Regions from separate parts of the Homo sapiens genome. Here region 1 is linked to region 2. Evidence: promoter capture Hi-C in 16 types of primary human blood cells and fetal thymus (Javierre and others, 2016). All regions are on one chromosome and are shown on one strand. Each heading gives the region's core, a stretch centred on a gene start or on the middle of the fragment in contact. The rest is flanking DNA. Distances are from core to core; before and after follow the strand shown. Region 1 overlaps PATJ (PATJ crumbs cell polarity complex component). Region 2 holds the start of C1orf87 (chromosome 1 open reading frame 87).

Region 1 (2,700 bases), core at 107-2,606, 2.0 Mb before region 2:
ACTAGCGTAGTCTCCTGAGTGAGAAGAGAGAAAAAAACCTGGTGAGACATCCTGGAGATGGCATTTCTTTTCCCTCCTCCACGTTTGCCTCACCCTAGCCAGTCCTGAGTCAATCTTTTTATTTACTTCTCTCATGGAATCCAGCCCCAAACCCAGCTCATACCAAGTCCTCAATAAATGCTTGGTAAGTAGATGAGTAAATGAATAAAATTTCTATAGATTCAACTGTAGGATGATGAACTTCATTTATTTATTTATTTGTTTATTTATTATTTAACCATGAGAATGAAAACCAGGAAGGATGCTGAATTTCTGTCATCTAAGTATAAATATGTGATATATATTACCAAAACTCAACTTGTCTACCTCCATAGTCAGCATGCATTGTTGGTAAAGTGCCAAGTATACATATTTTAATAGGGCATTACAGGCCAGACTGTCTCTGTTGTGACTACTTAACTCCATCATTATAGTGTGAAAAAAGCCACTGACAATACAGAAACAAATGAGTGTCTATAAACCTGTATTTGTGGACACTGAAATATGAATTTCATAGAATATTTTAATAAAATTTTCTTAGGTGTTTTTTCAACCTTTAAAAAGTGAACACCTTTTTTAGCTTGTAGACCATACACAACTAGCTGGTAGGCCAGATTTGACCCATGCGCCATAGTTTTCTGACCACATGCATCAAATGTTTTAGTACATCTACAATGCTTTAAAATAGTACCTGCTTGATGAACTTTATGAAGTTAATATTTATGAAAAAATATATAAAAGGCAAATACCACAAAGATTTCAGAACTGCTAAATTAATGCAGGGTTATGCTTTGCCATTGGTGAGTACTGTCTTTTAAAGAGTTTTATTTTTTACTGATGTATACTGCACAAAAGCAAAGTAGGGCTGGGCACAGTGGCTCACGTCTGTAATCCCAGCACTTTTGGAGGCCGAGGCAGGCAGATCACTTGAGGTCAAGAGTTTGAGACCAGCCTGGCCAACATGGTGAAACCCCATCTCTACTAAAAATGTAAAAATTAGCCGGGCATGGTGGTGAGCACCTGTAATCCCAGCTACTCAGGAGGCCGAGGCAGGAGAATCACTTGAACCCAGGAGGCAGAGGTTGCAGTGAGCTGAGATCAGCCCCCTGCCCTCCAGCCTGGGTGACAGAATGAGACTCTGTCTCAAAAAAAAAGAAAAAAAAGCAAGTAGAAATACCTATTATTCTTTATAAAGTTCTATTTTCAACCCCCAGTCAGCATAATTCAAGCCAGGAATTTAAAGACAGAATGTGCATGCCAATTTCTTTAAGCATTGAAAATCAACATTCTTCAAACAGCTTAAAGCAACATTTGCAGGGCTAAAAATTGGGTTTGATAGGATTTTTAAAGAGATATTACTCAAGACCTAAATATAATCTTTTGTAGAGATTAGAGAAGAATAATACAGAAGCCTCAGATTCAAATAACATTTACTGAGGTCCTTTTCTTTTCCTTTTTTTTTTTTTTGAGACAGAGTCTCACTCTGTCACCCAGGCTGGAGTGCAGTGGTGCAATCTCAGCTTACTGCAACTTCTGCCTCCTGGGTTCAGGCGATTCTCCTGCCTCAGCCTCCCGAGTAGCTGGGATTACAGGCATGCGCCACCATGCCTGGCTAATTTTTCGTATTTTTAGTAGAGACAGGGTTTCACCATGTTGGCCAGGCTGGTCTTGAACTCCTGACCTACTGAGGTCCTGTTCTGTTCTAGTGCTCTTATATTCAAAAAGCAACAGGCAATGGCGATGGCAGAGAGGAGGAAAAATGATGTAGGAAATGAAGTGACCTATCCAAGCCCCAAAGCTAAGGAAGCGGAGGAAGTATCCAGAGTCAGACTTCTGCCTCCTGGTCCAGTTCTCGTTTTAGGACATTATGATCCCTTGCCTTCTCTAAGGCTTAATGAGCCAGATCTGCTGAGAGAAAGAATCATACCATAGCCTGTGAAGTCTGCATCTGTTGAATGGTATGATGAAGCTGGTGCTAATGGTATCTCTTGTGAACTGAAGGAGACTTTTGTTGGATATTTTTGCTGTTTCATCTGGCTGACAGCCTACAAAAGAAAGGAAAATTAGATGAATATCAAAAAGGAGAAAGGTAACAAGAAAATACTTTAAAACTGGTGTATTGTTACCAAAACAATGGTGCAGTCCAATGATGTCTTTTGAGAATATAAGGTTGGAGGGTGGCAAGAAGTTAGGATGATTTATGCCTCGTTCCTCATTCTTCCCTATTTAACTTTACAACTAAAATGCTTTGATGAAGGGCAGATCAAGGAAGGGAGGAAAGATAAAAGCTGAAGATACTCTGTCAGTGTGATCTGTACATGAAGCTGGGGGTGGGAGGCAAAACAAAAATTATCTTGCAATTTCTACTCATTCTGATGAAATCAGCAAGAAGCCCCTTTATCTATGGACTTTGAAGTGACTTATCTGTGTTGTGCACATTGAAAAACAATCTACGCTGGGGATGTTTAGAGCATCAACACTGTCCATTTCTTCTGGACACACTAGAGTCAAAGATGCATTTGGTAGGTTAATTAAGCAAAATGAGGGGCAGACAAAGAAAACCAACACCTACTGAAAGCCTACTAAATGCCAGCTACATCAGTGACATTTAATTCACATAAAGGAAGCATAGCTCCTTTATTGAGTCCCTACTATGTTCCA
Region 2 (2,700 bases), core at 29-2,528:
TGTGGCTGTGTGTCTCACCCTCTAGAGAGTGAGCCCCTGGAGGGGAGCTGAGTGTGCTGTCCACCTCTGGCTGCATGTGCCAGTGGGTGATATATTCACCTGTAAAGCACAGTACAGCTAGAGGTTAGGAGACAGGGGAACAGATGCTGGAGCTGCTGCTGCCTATGTTGATGCAAATAACAATACCGTTTGGGAATCAATCTAAAGTGTCTTTGCCTGCATCAGCTGAAGTTTCTTTTAGCATAATAACAACTGTCTGGAAATGTAGGATATGCAGATCTATATTCTAATCTTAGCTCTGTACTTGCTTTTGCAGGATTTGGAGTAGTTTATCAATACCCCAACTTGTTTCTTTTCTCTTTAAAATAAAGTAAAACTATTTTGTTTATAACTATTAACTTGTGAGGTGAGAGTTATCCAGCTTGTCATAGGGATCTGGCATAGAGACAGTACTCAACGTTATTATTATCAATCTATAATATTCTGGTTTTTTTGTTTCTTTGTTTGTTTGATATGGAGTCTCGCTCTGTTGCCCAGGCTGGAGTGCAGTAGTACCATCCTGGCTCACTGCAAGGTCCACCTCCCAAGTTCAAGCAATTCTCCTGCCTCAGCCTCCTGAGTAGCTGGGATTACAGGCGCGCACCACCACGACCGGCTAATTTTTTGTATTTTTAGTAGAGACGGGGTTTCACCATGTTAGCCAGGATGGTCTCAATCTCCTGACCTCGTGATCTGCCCACCTCGGCCTAACAAAGTGCTGGGATTACAGGGGTGAACCACTGAGCCCGGCCGATATTCTTATTTAATTTAGTCACCAAATCGCAGTTAGGACAGTGTTATTATTTTGCCCCGTTTCACAGATGAGGAAACAATCTCAGGGAAAAGAAGGGATTTACTCAAGCCATACAGTGGAGACGTCTGGATTTGAACCTACTGTGTTGGAATCTCAACTATGTGCAAACTCACAAAGGGAAATGAAGCCTTCGGAGGAAGGGCGGGACAAGGGTGACCACACAGGTGAGCGAGATGGGCTTCTAGAAGGACGCCCGCATATCTCTGAGGAACAGAGAAGGCACAGATCAAAAACACCTAGGCTCTTCACCCGTTGGCAGCCAGAGCCTGGGTCCATTGCCTAGGCAGTGGAGAAAAACCTGGTCCCCGCCCAGAAACAGCCTTCAGCGTCCTTAGCGACCAGGGCGGAACAGGCGCCGCCCGCGATGCGGGCCCTGTGATTGGCCGGATTCCTGGGCTCGGTCCCCACGCCCCGTCCCGTCCCCGGGTCTGAGAGTGTCAGCTTCCTGGGGAGAAGCACGGACCGCGCACCTCTGAGCTGCCAGGGTGGGGACGCTGCCCTAGCGGTAAGCCCCCCGACTCTGTTCTCTCCGGGCAATCAGGGCCGACACGCAGCTGCTGGGCAGGGAGGGGATTTGAGGATCACGAGTTCCGGGTCTGGAAGATTCCAGACAGGTGCAAAGAGGCTGCAGGTCCCCGGGATGAGGGGCTGCCCTAGCACAGGTCTTTAGTATTGGACTTTTGGGAAGAACCCTGGCCTAGACATCAGACCCAAGTACTGGAAACAGTCCCGTCCTTCATTCCTCTGTGACCCTTGTCAAATAACACACCCTCTCTGGGCCTTAGTTTTCCAATCTGTGAAGGAGCCTTTGGAGTAGAATGATTTCTAAAGGCCTTTCAGCCTCTGGGTGGTTCTAAAAGGGAGTGTTCAGCTGTGGCCAGATTTACTGAACTTCTGATTTTCCCTTGGCATCACTCTGTTTAAACACCTTGTGCAGGAGTTCAATTTCAGATTCATTGTATTGTTGTAGAAAGAGATCAGTGATAACAACAAAAGTCTGTCTGTCTTGTGTACAGTCTCCCTTCAGATGCATTATCTCCTTGGATTCACCCTCAAGTCCCTGAGAACAGACCTAGAATTACCCTGATCTCATAAATGGGGAAACTAAACATCAGAACTGAATATGGATTCTTCATATGTCCCACTAATGCCCTTGTTTCTGCTCTGACCTCACTGGAATTCCATCCTATGTCTTGTAGTACAGGAAGGTAGAGTCACCTAATGATTCAGTAGATCTGCTGTACAGACCTCTTAGGTGAGATTCCCAAGTCGGCTAATTACTGGTGATGTGATGTGATGTGAGTAAGTCATATAGCTACATTTTGCTTGTTTCCTCAACAGTAAAACAAAAATGATAATAGTAGTTAAAAATATCTTTCTCATGCCTTTGTTAGGAGTGTTAAGTGAGGTAATATAGGTGAAACACTTTGTCCTGCTATTATTATTGCTTGTTGTTATTGGCAAGGATGATGCAGTTCCCTAATGGAAAATCAAGAGGAACAATTTACTTATTTTCACCCCTAGGGATCTGAAGGGATTTTGAAAGGAATCATGTCTTCAGCCTGGAAGACTCCCCGTGGATCAGATGCAATGCCTGAGATCATGGTGAAAATCATTGGAAGTAAACACTTTCAATACCTCGTGGAGAAGCCAAAGATGTAAGTCCATATTTGAAAAATATCTATGTTGCTTGGATGATAATGAAGTTTTATTGTTTTGTTTTCACCCAGAAATTTAAACTTAAAAAATGCCATCCATGGAAAACGAAGTCATTAAGATGCAACAGTAGAGGTAAAATCGTGTTGATAACTTCCATGTGCACTGTTTTCCTGATATTTTTCATCTTT

What was found. The method cuts DNA at HindIII sites, captures the fragments that hold promoters and counts their contacts. A CHiCAGO score of 5 or more calls a contact.
Region 1: a fragment that was not itself captured here is called in contact with the fragment with the promoter of C1orf87 in region 2 in 1 of 17 cell types (M0 macrophages); the score reaches 5.8 in M0 macrophages.

The regions. Positions count from the first base shown.
Region 1 is chr1:62,078,834-62,081,533 of GRCh38, reverse strand. It overlaps PATJ (PATJ crumbs cell polarity complex component), which reads right to left. Exons shown (of 44, transcript NM_001350145.3): 32 at 1,967-2,084. MIR3116-1 (microRNA 3116-1) reads right to left here; the gene lies at 2,675-2,700. It overlaps MIR3116-2 (microRNA 3116-2), which reads left to right and starts at 2,678; the gene lies at 2,678-2,700. The HindIII fragment of the contact is 4,785 bases long and covers 1-2,700 here.
Region 2 is chr1:60,072,348-60,075,047 of GRCh38, reverse strand. It overlaps C1orf87 (chromosome 1 open reading frame 87), which reads left to right and starts at 1,278. Exons shown (of 12, transcript NM_152377.3): 1 at 1,278-1,358; 2 at 2,378-2,511. The coding sequence starts at 2,405. The HindIII fragment of the contact is 5,384 bases long and covers 1-2,700 here.